3 separate regions of the Homo sapiens genome follow, and regions 1 and 3 are each linked to region 2. Evidence: promoter capture Hi-C in 16 types of primary human blood cells and fetal thymus (Javierre and others, 2016). All regions are on one chromosome and are shown on one strand. The core of a region is centred on a gene start or on the middle of the fragment in contact, and the rest is flanking DNA. Distances in the headings are between cores, read along the strand shown.

Evidence for each region. The method cuts DNA at HindIII sites, captures the fragments that hold promoters and counts their contacts. A CHiCAGO score of 5 or more calls a contact.
Region 1: the fragment with the promoter of MYL6B here is called in contact with the fragment with the promoter of TIMELESS in region 2 in 3 of 17 cell types (naive CD4 T cells, total CD4 T cells and total CD8 T cells); the score reaches 6.9 in naive CD4 T cells.
Region 3: a contact is called between a fragment that was not itself captured here and the fragment with the promoter of TIMELESS in region 2, in 2 of 17 cell types (M1 macrophages and naive B cells). The highest score is 5.3, in M1 macrophages.

The regions. Positions count from the first base shown.
Region 1 is chr12:56,151,070-56,155,635 of GRCh38, reverse strand. MYL6B (myosin light chain 6B) reads right to left here and starts at 3,049. Exons shown (of 8, transcript NM_002475.5): 1 at 3,005-3,049; 2 at 1,544-1,763; 3 at 796-823; 4 at 438-581; 5 at 44-217. The coding sequence starts at 1,717. It overlaps LOC124902942, which reads right to left and starts at 3,809. Exons shown (of 3, transcript XM_047429954.1): 1 at 3,589-3,809; 2 at 3,005-3,230; 3 at 1,739-1,827. The coding sequence starts at 3,642. The coding sequence ends at 1,793. The region is part of intron 2 of MYL6B-AS1 (MYL6B antisense RNA 1); the gene reads left to right. It overlaps LOC124902943 (a long non-coding RNA gene), which reads left to right and starts at 1,763. Exons shown (of 2, transcript XR_007063328.1): 1 at 1,763-2,507. RefSeq lists an enhancer at 3,896-3,975. The HindIII fragment of the contact is 15,658 bases long and covers 1-4,566 here.
Region 2 is chr12:56,447,629-56,451,778 of GRCh38, reverse strand. It overlaps TIMELESS (timeless circadian regulator), which reads left to right and starts at 2,353. Exons shown (of 29, transcript NM_003920.5): 1 at 2,353-2,469. MIP (major intrinsic protein of lens fiber) reads left to right here. Exons shown (of 4, transcript NM_012064.4): 4 at 314-2,277. The coding sequence ends at 499. RefSeq lists enhancers at 2,610-2,699, 2,810-2,929, 2,952-3,472. The HindIII fragment of the contact is 959 bases long and covers 2,012-2,970 here.
Region 3 is chr12:56,176,228-56,180,763 of GRCh38, reverse strand. It overlaps SMARCC2 (SWI/SNF related BAF chromatin remodeling complex subunit C2), which reads left to right. Exons shown (of 29, transcript NM_001330288.2): 12 at 1,708-1,767; 13 at 1,917-1,954; 14 at 2,230-2,360; 15 at 2,671-2,742. Among named protein-coding and RNA genes, the nearest start is that of SMARCC2, 11 kb to the left of the region's middle. The HindIII fragment of the contact is 1,116 bases long and covers 1,437-2,552 here.

The DNA.
Region 1 (4,566 bases), core at 1,800-4,299, 300 kb after region 2:
CTCTCCACTCTAAAGGAGTTCTGGTCCCCCTTGCCTGCCTCACCAAGGGTGGTGAGAACATGTCTGAGCTCTGCTCCCATGACTTTGCCGTTCCCCTCCTTGTCAAACACACGAAACCCCTCCAAGTAGTCCTCATATGTGCCTTGGCCTCGGTTCTTGGCCACTGCCTGGAGCATGGGCAGGAAAGTCTCAAAGTCCACACGCCGCGACTTCAGCTCTGGAGGTTGGAGAGAGGTAAAGGAGAGGTCATTGTAGTATTACATAGGACCCAGCTCCCAACCCTACCACAATGCTTTCATCCTATTCAGCATTTAGGATATTTTCCTGCTTCTGTGTTTGACAGTTTTTGAAGTCCTGAGATCCACCTCATTCTTTTTGTTACCAACATCCAACTTTTGAAAACTAAAAACCCAAATTGTTCCCAAGGGTCCCCTCACCATCACTCTTGGGGTTCCCCAGGACCTTGAGCACCTCGGCGTTGGTGGGGTTCTGGCCCAGGGCCCTCATCACGTCCCCACACTGGCTGTACAGGATCTTGCCATCCCCCACTCGGTCAAACAGCTCGAAGGCCTCCTTGAACTCTAAAGTATAAGGAAGGGTCAGTGTAGACACTGACTAGGGTTCCCATCACCCCCAGACAGAAGGGAATTTCAGAAACTATGTGAACAGAACAAGGGAGGAAAAGAGGACTAGTATGGGAGGTTTCAAGGTCAGGACTGGGGTTAGGGGAATAGAAAGAGAATCTGACCAGGGGATTGGGGATGGGACAGTGGCCTTAGATGAGCTTCTCCTCACCCTCCAGCTGGTCCTTGTTAAACTCGATCTGTGGAAGAAAAAAGCAGGTGGGGAGAGATGAGAGTTTATTCAATCCCTCTCCCGCACTCCTCCCAACCAACTGGCAGCCACTTCTGAGGAGGGGCCCAAAGGGACCAGGCTGGAAGCCCAGCCACCTCAGTCCCATTCCCAGCTCTGGGCCTTGGGAGAATCCCAAGAAGAGGAATTACAGTGGGGAGGGTTTCCTGGGAACAGGGTTAATCCCATGCCACCTGTTTCCCTCCCTCCATTGCCCTGAGCCCTGCATCCCACACATAACTGGGGGCTGAACAAAGGCTAAATTTACCCCTGGCCCCCAGCTGTGATTGTCTAACAAGTCTGTCCTCTTCAGCCTCCCCTCCTGGAGTTCAGAGCTGCAGGCCTTTTGAATTGAACCACCAGCCAGGGGCAGGCAACAGCTCTCTTCCCTTCACCTTGAAACTGTTCTCAGAACCCAGATGTTCCCCATCTAAGAGTCCCTGCCTCCAGCAGGGGGTAAGTGAGTGTGTATGTGCTGTACACACATGATTATAGGTTAGAGGGAGAGAACAGCAAAGACAACAGCAGAGTCATAAGACTGGATGCTTCCAAATGGGGGACTAAGGGAAAGCCCCAATCTCATTCCAGGGCTCACTGATTCCCTACCTTCTAGATACCCCCTAATCCCCTAGGCTGTATCCCACCCTCAAACCACCCCCTCCAATTCTATCTTCACTTTCCAGAGACTCACCACCACTTTGGAGAGATCGACTGGAGGCTCCTGGGTTTTCTGAGGGGCCTGGGGGACAGCTGGCTCAGCTTTGGTCTTGGCTGGAGGAGCCCCTGCTGCTGCTGGCTTAGCAGCAGGTTTGGAGATGGAGGGCCCTGCTGGTTTCTTCACGGGAACATCCTTCTTGGGAGGCATGATGTCCGGTGGCCAAAGGACAGTGTGCGGATGGGGGCACCCATCTCTGTTTAAATAGCCAGGGAGTCTGGGATGTCAAGGGGCGGGGGCAGGGGCAGGGAGCCAGTTGGCTGTGGCAAAGATGAGGTAGAGGAGAGATATAACCGCCTGCCCTCACTCCCCTGGCCTCCTATGGTTCAGGACTCCTGCCCCAAGGTCTTCTTCCCTCTGTCCCCTTATCCCCAAAGGCTGACCAGAAAAGAACAATGTTTCCTTTAGGGGTAGGGGAGGAAGCCAGAGACTGCCCAGAATGAGGTAGTTAACCTCCAGGGTGAGGATAGGATGCTTGCCAGTGGCACTGAGATGGGGGTGGTGAGGCAAAGCAGGTGATCCAGCAGCTTTAGTCTTCTTGAAGGGTGGGGTGAGGGGTAGCAGCCAGGGAGGCTTGTGTGAACTGGAACAAGTTAAAGTGTGGTCTGGGAGCAATGACAAAAACAAGAAGCCCATCTGCCCAGCCCCTCCACTCCCTTCTGACCATGGCTTTGTAAAGAGCAGGGGTAGTTAACCTTAGAGTCTAATGATCCCTAATACTTGTAGTTCCTGAGCCCCCACCCAGCCAAGAACTGGAACTATTCACAGTATAAAGGAAGAATAGTCATAAAAACAGGAGTATGACATCCCTCATTGTCTCCTGTGCCCAGTGTTGTTTTAGGGGCAGGAGTGGGGGCAAAGATCAGGTTTAACATCTGCTACCCATTCTTCCATGGAAGAAACCTTCCACAAGCCCACGGTCATTCAAGACAAACAAAAGGTAGGGTGCTTGCTGAACCTGTGGGGACCCTTTGGTGGCACCTGAGGAGAAGGGCAGGCTCTGGGAGACGGCTTAAATTCCCTAATCCAAGAGGATGTGGGCGCTCCTATGGCTCCATGAGTATTCACCCCACAACCAGGGGTATAATAAAAATCCTGACTCAGGGGCCAGGTCACAAACCTTGCCAGGGGCGCTGGGAGAGAGTCCAAGTTGGGGGGCGTTTGGGAGTGGGGAGGGATTGCAGGCTACTTTTGTTCTGGGGTAAATTAGGAAAGGATTTAGGTAGCATTCTGAGGAAGATAGCAGTGATTCCACTTAGGCCCCGGGGTTGATGCTGGGTCTCCCATTCGCAAAACAGCGTCTGAATCTCATGACTGCAAATTGTCCCATTTTTACAAAATACATCACACACACACGACACACACACACACACACACACTCACGCACCCCCACTAAATCTTAAAGAAAATGGCCCTCCTCAGCCCCCAAAAACTCACCCTGCGGGGTCCGTGTCTGGGGCTGGGGAGGGGGCGGGGCATAGCGCGGCCCCCAGCCCTGAAGGGTTAATTCCGGTGGCCGCGGAGCATGCCGGGAGTCGTAGTTCCCCGCGGGCTCACGGGATGCGCCGCGCTCTAGATTGCAGTTGACGCGAGGGCGGTGGCTTCCGGCCCATGGCGGTGGTTGGTGACTCAGTGTCCTTCCAGCGCGCTTTATGTCCCGGAACTGAAAGGCAATGAACAATTTCCAATCCACCCCAACCCTAAAAACCCTGCGGGGCCCCTAGGGTATCCCTCCTACTTAACCCTGGCGGGCTCCTAGTCTCGGGAGGTGGAGGGGGCGGGGCGGCTGTTTTCCTGGACCTACTGCTGAAAGAACTCAGAACCTGGGGAAAGATTGAGGCTGCAGCAGGCAGCGTGGAGGTCAGATAGCTGGAAGCACTTAACGGCCCCGGGGAGAACCGCTGCACTCTCTTTTGCTTCCTCTCGCGGTTTGGTAGAAAAAAAAGAGGCCTCAGAGTAGTTTGTTTTTAATGAGCTGGTTGCTGAAGTAAATGTTAAAATTTGCAATTAAGCCCAGTCACCTGCCCCAGCCTTCTCTGATCGAGGTTTCCATCCTGCGGCAGCATATGCGCCATCCTCCTCGATCTTCACAGGTCTCTGAGCGGAGGGCTGGGCTTTCCAGCCCTACTTTCTGAAACTCTTATGGTCAGCATTGGAGTTCACTGGTTCCCCTAGGCGTTGATCAGAGGATGGGAACCAGCCCGGCCGGGCCCACCTTCACTCACTGGATCAGTAAATACCCTGGCGGTGCACCTGGTGTTGGAAGCTGGTGCTGCACAGGCGTGTGAGGATTAGATCAGAGCAGAAAACTCGGGCGATGGCAGGGTGGTGAGGCACAGGTGAACTTTATGGGCAGTAAGTGAGGTTCACTGGTTGGGGAAAGTTTATTGGAAAGGTAGAAATGAATTGTACGACAGAAATAACGATAATAGTAAGTTAGCAACCATTTCTGGAGGCCGCCATAGATCTCGTACCGGTGAAGGGGCTAAATTATCTCAGAGGGTGCTCAAGTGGATGGGGTTCAGACAGCCTACTCAGATTTAAATCCTGGTTCTACCAGGTCCTAGTTAGTGACCCTCAGCAGGTTTAGTTATCTCTCCTGGGCCTCAGTTCCTCATCTGTAAAATAATGATAATGGTACCTACCTCATAGGGCTCTTCGGAGGATTCGAAGTGTTATTATTGGTAAAATAGGGCCGGGCTTGGTGGCTCACACCTCCCAGCACTTTGGGAGGCGAGGCAGGTGGGTCACCTGAGGTCAGGAGTTCGAGACCAGCCTGGCCAACATGGTGAAACCCTGTCACTACTAAAAATACAAAAAAAAAAAAAAAAAAAAAAAAAAAAAAAAATAGCTGGGCCTGGTGGCGGGCGCCTGTAATCTCAGTTACTTGGGAGGCTGAGGTCGGAGAATCACTTGAACCCGGCAGGTTGCAGTGAGCCGAGATCGCACCACTGCACTCCAGCCTGGGTGACAGAGTGAGACTCCAACTCAAAAAAAAA
Region 2 (4,150 bases), core at 1,104-3,603:
TGGGATTACAGGCATAAGCCACTGCGCCTGTCCAAAAATATTTAATATGGTAAATTTTATATGTGTTTTACCACAATGTATAAAATTTTTTTGAAAGCAACATACAAACTAGTGCAAATTGATAACAAATAGAATATACACATGCTAAGGTGTGGGATAAAGGAGTAATTTGATGAATCAGAAAATAAATGGTGAGTTTATTGTAGATATCAAGTGTACAATATCTTGTTTTCCACTAAGGTGGCTGGAAAAAGAGCAGCGTTGCTACTCTGTCCCCTCCCCAAGCCTGAGTATTCCTTTTCTCTTTCTACAGGTGTACTGGGTAGGCCCAATCATTGGAGGGGGTCTGGGCAGCCTCCTGTACGACTTTCTTCTCTTCCCCCGGCTCAAGAGTATTTCTGAGAGACTGTCTGTCCTCAAGGGTGCCAAACCCGATGTCTCCAATGGACAACCAGAGGTCACAGGGGAACCTGTTGAACTGAACACCCAGGCCCTGTAGAAGCTCCAGCTGAATAGAGGGAGTAGAAAGCTTCTGAGTTTACGTGGAGGGGTTTAGCCAGCCCCTAGATGAAGAAAGAGACTGTGGGGAGGGTCATGTACTTCTTTATTTTTTAACTTATGTATGTGGTTGTTTTTTTTTTTTTTTTCCTTTTGCTGTGTGAAATCTTTCAAGTTGCATTCATGAGCTGGTTGGTGCAAACTTCCCTTCCTCCCCATCCCACCACCCTTCGCCGTGTGTGCTGATTGTGCATATGAATGTGAGTGTGGCTGTGTCTGAGTTTTGGGGCATGAGAGCTAAGGAAGCAAAAAGAGGTGCCATCCTATACCTCCCTTCCTCGACCCAGTATGGTGAGTACTGGGTAACCGACACCTTAAGTTTCTGGCCTTTACCCTGCTGCCAGTCAAGTGTGTGGCTCTTGATTTCTGAGGGAACAGAGAAGCAGGGAGTTACTCCTCACACGAGGCAGATGGAGAGAAGTGGAGGAGACAAGGCTTCCAAGGGTTAGGAGAAGGGACTCAAGGGAGGTGGGTGGTGAAAACGGAGTATTAGCCCCAGATCAGGATGTAGGTGTACCGAAGAATTGGGGGGAAGTTAATGGGAATATATAGCCTACTTATCTTAGGGATGCTTGCCCCAGGGACTTGGGTGGGGAAGTAGCTCTGAGAAAAGTGAACACTAGGATTTAGCTGTTCTGTAAAGCCACGTAAACCTGTCTACATCCGCTGGCTGGTTGTGTTCATTCTGACATAATGGATCTCTTCAGAGGTCCTGGGCCAAAGAGCTTCCAACCTAAATAGAGCTTGGGCAAGCCTAGAATCTAGAAAAATTAAGCAGCTTAACTGGTCAGCCTGACATCCACTGTTGTGGCTGCCTGGCAGATGGTATTTAAGCCCCACAATTGTTCCCTAAGGCCAACACAGGAAATCTGATTCCTGGAGCAAATAAATGAACGGGTGGTAGTAGGGGGCATGAGGGGAGAGGCTTTGACTCTGTTCTAATTTATTTAGAGCAAATCAAAACACTCCTCAAATGGCATCTTTCTGCTTTTATCACTAGTTCCGTGTTTTTTTTCTTGTTTTGTGTCTGTGTATTTTCATTTCTCTGTCATCCGTCCTTTCATCTTGAAGCAAATCTCTTCTAACTCCCTCATACCCCAGAAATTGATTCCTTCTATTCAAATGCTTAATAATTCAGGAGATTATTATTTGTTTGAGCCCTATCTTCTTTTTTTTTTTGAGAGGGGGTCTTACTATGTTGACCAGGTTGGAGTGCAATGGATATTCACAGGCACGATCATCGCACACTACAGTCTAGAAATCCTGGGCTCAAGCGATCTTCCTGCTTCAGCCTCCCCAGTAGCTGGGATTACAGGGGGCCAGAGCACAGCCCTATTTTCTTTTCCTTTTGGCAAGATCATCTCAGCAGAGGCCAGAAGAGACCCTCAACTGTTCAATGAATATTTACGGTTGCTTTCTTCCTTTTATGAGCCTCTTGCATACTTTGAAAGCTTTAAATTTATACCTATAATACAACGGACATCCCCTATCCCAGAAGACCATTCCTCCCTGTACTTCAGCTCTTTACTTCCTCCCAAATAAAACCTAACTTTTCTAACTAACTATTTAAGACTTGGAATAGTCCGCTTGACTAGAAGAAGGGGAAGAATGTTTGTAAATTCACCTCTAATCGGACTTTGATTCTACTATAATTCAGCAGAAAATTCATAGCGCTGTGATTTTTAGATCGACCTCACATAAAACAGTCCCTGCACTCGCTTCCCTTTTCCTTCCTTCTTCACCAATCTCCGCCCCAGTTCGCTCGGAGTCACGTGGACCAGCCCGGCTCGCCCCGCCTCGCTCTTCGCGCAGGCGGGGACCGGTCCAGCTGAGCCTGGTGGCGGAAAGGCTGCGGCCCCGCGCCAGAGGGCCGGTGGCTCCTCCGGGCTTCTGAGGACCCGCAGGGAGCGGGTGAGTGAGTGTGTGGCGAGAGGGCGCTAAGCGGACACGGGGATCCTTTCGAAGCTATGGGGGCATTCTCGGGAAACGCTGAGTCCCTTTTCCCGCCACCCGGTTTAGAGCCAGGGGGCGGGGCTCGTGCTGCAGGCGCGCACGCGCAATTCTGTACTCTGCTCCTTAGTCTCCCGCGCCGCGTTCCCGGGTCTCACCGGACGCGGGCTTAGCCCTACGCTGCTCCGCACAGCTTGGGTCTCCCGCGGGATGGGGTTGTGATGGAAAGGGGCTTGGAATTCCTGAATTAGAACAGAAAGTGCCTGAGGGAGTTCCACTTCGGAGCTTAGCATCTAGTTGAGACCTCCTGAAAAAAACCGGTGTGTGGCCTGGCGGTCAGCAGTGGTCGGAATTCACAGGCCGCTTTACTTATATCGTGGGTTTTATGGAACGGATTTCTCACTCCCTCCCTTCGTTGCCTTGTTCGGGTTTGTCACCTGGACCTCAGCCGCTAATGAAGCTTTTTTCCTTGAGCCTCTCAATTCTTTGCCATTCGTGCTTCGACTAGTACTTTCAATTTTTTATTTATTTTATTTTATTTTGAGACGGAGTCTCGTTCTGTCGCCCAGGATGGAGTGCAGTGGCGCCATCTCGGCTCACTGCAACCTCCGCCTCCCGGGTTCAAGCGATTCTCTTGCCTCAGCTTCCTGAGTAGCTGGGATTACAGGCGCGCGCCACCATGCCCGGCTAATTTTTGTATTTTTTTTAGTAGAGATGGGGGTTTCACCTTATTGGTCAGGATGATCTCAAACTCCTGACTTCGTGATCCGCCCGCCTCGGCCTCCCAAAGTGCTGGGATTATAGGCGTGAGCCACCGCGCCTGGCCTGTTTGTTTTTTTTGGTTGTTTTGTTTTGTTTTGTTTTTGAGATGGAGTCTGGCTCTGTCGCCCAGGCTGGAGTGCAGTGGTCCGATCTCGGCTCACTGCAACCTCCGCCTCCCCAGTTCAAGCGATTCTCCTGCCTCAGCCTCCCCAGGAGCTGGGATTACAGCTGCCCGCCACCACGCCCGGCTAATTTTTGTATTTTTAGTAGAGATGGGGTTTCACCATGTTGGCCAGGCCGGTCTCGAACTCCTGACCTCAAATGATCCGCCCGCGTCGGCCTCCCACAGTGCTGGGATTACGGGTGTGAGCCACCACACCCGGCCCTACTAGTACTTTGTACAAAGTAAAGGTAGATCATCTGATGTTAAATTTAAAACTCCTCTTTGACCACCCACAGTTAGCCTTAAATCCGTAGGTGGGTGTCTGTGGCCTCTCAGTCTGGCCCTGACCCTCTCAATCTCATTTTGTAAATCTCTTACGCACCTGACTCCTGGCCACGTGGAAAGATTGTGGCTGCCCTCTTTCATATCTCAGTACTTAGTTCCTGCTGTTCCTTCTGCTTGGAAGATCTTGACACTGCTCTGCCAAGCGAACTTCTCTTTGAAGACTGAGCTTAATTGTCCCTCTGAAAATCAATGTATCCAGCTTCCTATGCCAAGTTAGTCACTTCTTCCTGTGTGTCCCTGAAGTTTTTTACCCCCCTCTATTACCAGGGGCACTGATACAGCTCAATAAAAGATCAATAAAAGGTTACTGAGCTCCTAACATGTACCATGCACTGTGCTTAGCGCCAGGCTTACAGAGATGAGTAGGATGGA
Region 3 (4,536 bases), core at 745-3,244, 270 kb after region 2:
TAGTAGTTGTCTCCAAACTCTTTGATTATGTGTTTCTGACAGTAAAATATATTTGAGCATGGCCAGGCACGGTGGCTTATGACTGTAATCCCAGCATTTTGGGAGGCCGAGGCGGGCGGATCACCTGAGGTCAGGAATTCGAGACCAGCCTGGCCAACATGGTGAAACCCCATCTCTACTAAAAATACAAAAATTAGCTGGGCGTGGTGGTGGGCACCTGTAATCCCAGCTACTCGGGAGACCGAGGCAGGAGAATTGCTTGAACCTGGGAGGTAGAGGTTGCAGGGAGCCGAGATTGTACCACTGCACTCCAGCCTGGGCGACAAGAGCAAAACTCCATCTCAAAAAAAAAAAGGGCCGGGCACGGTGGCTCATGCCTGTAATCCCAGCACTTTGGCAGGCCGAGGTGGGCGGATCACGAGGTCAGGAGATCGAGACCATCCTGGCTAACATGGTGAAACCCTGTCTATACCAAAAATACAAAAAAATTAGCTGAGCGTGGTGGCGGGTGCCTGTAGTCCTAGCTACTCAGGAGGCTGAGGCAGGAGAATGGCGTGAACCTGGGAGGCGGAGCTTGCAGTGAGCTGAGATCACGCCACTGCACTCCAGCCTGGGCAACAGGGCGAGACTCCATCTCAAATAAAAAAAAAGAAAAAAAAATGTATATATGCATTAATTATGTACTTGTACTGTTAAGCCGCTACCATGGGAACGTTTTAAAACACAAACATATCTAAAAAATTGAAAAATGTAAAGAATGATAAAAACAAACATGAAGAATCAGGGCGCGGTGGCTTACGCCTGTAATCCCAGCACTTTGGGAGGCCGAGGCAGGCGGATCACGAGGTCAAGAGATCAAGACCATCCTGGCTAACACGGTGAAACCCCATCTTTACGAAAAATACAAAAATTTGCCAGGCGTGGTGGTGGGCGCCTGTAATCCTAGCTATTCGGGAGGCTGAGGCAGGAGAATCACTTGAATCTGGGAGGTGGAGGTTGCAGTGAGCCGAGATCGCACCACTGCACTCCAGCCTGGGCGACAGAGCGAGACTCCGTCTCAAAAAAACAAAACAAAAAACATGAAGAGAAGTTCTGTATTCTCTCCCTGAGTTGCAGTGGATCATCTTTTGCGTCCTATGTTAGAACCCCACTTTGGAGACATTGCTCCACCAATACTGGTTTACAGTCTGTATTCTGTAGACTCACCCCAGGTATTCCAGAAGTGTATTTCAGGGGTAGGATTAGGGCTGCCACCAAGAAGAGTTCTGGCTTCTACCTCCTCATCAATCAGCTCTCTCTCTTCTCTATGTTTGCTCCTGAGCATATGTATATGAATTCAGTTGAGGAAAGTATCCTCTGCTTTCAAAAATGTTTAACACTTAACCATTCTTCCACAGAGTGATTTGGTCAGATTCAGTATCAGACCATTAAAAGCTTACAGATACATAGATGGAGATAAAGGCCTGTCAAAGACAAGAATCATTTATGAATGTACATAGAGAAATAAGTTAAATTAATTTTTGGTTGGAGAAGTGGGGAAAGTAGCAAGAAGTTTGAAGCCCTAGAATAATTGTGACTGGAGAGAATTACTATATTTTGCAATCAGGTGGAGACAATTTTTGGAGAAAGTAGGATGTCTGGAACTATTAAATTGAAGGCTTGAATTAGGCAAAATCTGTCTGATAAAATGACTCTCTGTTTTCGCAGTCAACACAAAGAAAGACTCAGAGTCGGCCCCAGTCAAAGGCGGCACCATGACCGACCTGGGTAAGACAGGAGCCTCTTGGGCACGGCAGTCAGAGCCAAGGGAAGGGGAGGGCTCAGCTGCCCCCTTTTCGCTAGCCTGATGGGCTTTTGGTAGGGCTTTCTTGCCCCTCAGGAGGCTCCAGCCTTACATCTTGGTTTTTCTCTTTCAGATGAACAGGAAGATGAAAGCATGGAGACGACGGGCAAGGTGGAGCCAGTTTAGAGAGGCCCTACCTCTCTATGTGATTCTGATTTGTGATTATAAAGTTCATTCTGCCCAAACTTTTCACTGCCCAGACTTTACCCACTGTAGACTAATTCCAGCTTTGTTCAAAACTCTGACCCTTTCAGAGTCCTGGGGCCCATGACTGCTCAGTCCCATCACCCATCTTTAGTGTCCACATTCCTGGGGTGTGGGAGAAGCAGAGGGTTGCTAGGGAGGAAGCAGGAATGCTGAGTGTCCAGCAGCCTCCATACTCGTAGGATGAGGATGAGAACAGTACGGGGAACAAGGGAGAGCAGACCAAGAATCCAGACCTGCATGAGGACAATGTGACTGAACAGACCCACCACATCATCATTCCCAGCTACGCTGCCTGGTTTGACTACAATAGGTATGGTTGTCCCCAACTTCTCACTGAGTCCTTATTTCCCTGCCTCCAGGGGTCAACAGGCTGTTCTTCTCCCTGCCTCCTCCAAATAAGTTATTTTTTCCTCACCCAAATAGACCAGAGTACACTTTAGTTTTAGGGGAGCTCCTTGTGTCCTTTTGAGTCTTACAGCCTGTGGGATGTTCTCCCCAAGCTTCTAACTTCAGCAATTTCGAGCTCTTTTCCTTCTTTGCCTTCTAGGCTTTTCCTCCCTTTGGGGCCCCCATCCCTTCACCAATGCCTTCTTCTGAAACCATTCTGGCTTTTCTTGCAGTGTTCATGCCATTGAGCGGAGGGCTCTCCCCGAGTTCTTCAACGGCAAGAACAAGTCCAAGACTCCAGAGATGTAAGGAAATCTCATCTCATGATTCTCCTTCTCCCTCCTGTCCCCACATTCACCCTTCCTGATCCAGTAACATTCAGTTTAGCAAACATTTCTTGAGCATCTTCCATGAGCCAGGCACTATGCTAGGCTTACAAAGGCACAATATCTGCCTTTAGGCAGCCCTGGCCTAGCATGTAGACACATGTTCTTTAGGATTTGCCCAAGGGTGATATTAAGCATGTTCTATACATAACAAGTACCTACTCCAGTGCCTCAACTTCTTTTTAACAGGGTATAGAGCCTTTAAATCCATATTACTGATATCGTCTATACTGCAGATATTCCTAGCACAAAAGTTTTGATTAAAGTGTAAATTACTATTACCAGGCTGGTTCCTGAGAGTAGGTTTTAATAGAAAAACAAGAGAAGGAACTAATAGAAGACCAGTTTATATAAATTAAGGGATGGAGAGGGCTCACTGGGAAAGAAGTGTAGGAGCCACGGTGGCTCACGACTGTAAATCATCCCAGCTACTTGGGACACTGAGACAGAAGGATTCCTTGAGGCCAGGAGTTCAAGAATAGCATGAGCAACATAGCAAGACTCCCATCTCTAAAGAAGTGAAAAAAAATTAGCTGGGCCTGGTGGGGCATACCTGTGGTCCCAGCTACTTCGGAAGCTGAAATGGGAAGATTGCTTGAGCCCAGGAGTTTGAGGCTGCAGTGAGCCATGATCACACCACTGCTCTCCAGCCTGGCTGACACGGCAAGACCCCGTATCTAAAAAAATTAATGAACAAGGCTGGGTGTGGTGGCTCACGCCTGTAATCCCAGCACTTTGGGAGGCCGAGGCGGGCGGATCACAAGGTCAGGAGATCGCGACCATGCTGGCTAACATGATGAAACCCCATCTCTACTAAAAAGACCAGGCGCGGTGGCTCATGCCTGTAATCCCAGCAATTCGGGAGGCTGAGGCGGGCGGATCACCCGAGGTCAGGAGTTCGAGCTCAGCCTGACCAACATGGAGAAACCCCGTCTCTACTAAAAATACAAAACTAGCTGGGCGTGGTGGCACGTGCCTGTAATCCCAACTACTAGGGAGGCTGAGGCAGGAGAATCGCTTGAACCCGGGAGGCGGAGGTTGCAGTGAGCCGAGATTACGCCATTGCACTCCAGCCTGGGCAACAAGAGTGAAACTCCGTCTCAAAAAAAACAAAAAAACAAAAACAAAAAAAATTAGCCGGGCGTGGTGGCATGCATCTGTAGTCCCAGCTAGTCTGGAGGCTGAGGCAGGAGAATCACTTGAACCTGAGAGGCAGAGGTTGCAGTGAGCCGAGATCACGCCACTGCACTCCAGCCGGGGTGACAGAGCGAGACTCCGTCTCAAAAAAAAAAAAAATTAGCTGGGCGTGGTGGCAGGCGCCTGTAGTTCCAGCTACTTGGGAGGCTGAGGCAGGAGAATGGCATGAACCTGGGAGACAGAGCTTGCAGTGAGCCGAGATTGCGCCACTGCACTCCAGCCTGGGCGACAGAGCAAGACTCCGTCTCAAGAAAAAAAAAAAGATTTTGCCTCAGGCCAAACCTGCTTGGCTTTGGATAAGACATGGCAGTCTTCTTTGGTTAGGAATACTTCAAGATAACCACATTGATGAGGTGGGTGAGACTGAGAACTGAACAAGTTTTCTTCCCAGCTATTCCACAGCTTCCCCTCTCTGGGGGTCCCTCCGTGTTTTTTCTTCATAGCTTGCTATGGTTCTCTCTTCCTTCTCTTCCTGGAGAAAGCAGTATGTGTGAAAAGAAAGTAGTGATCAGGTGA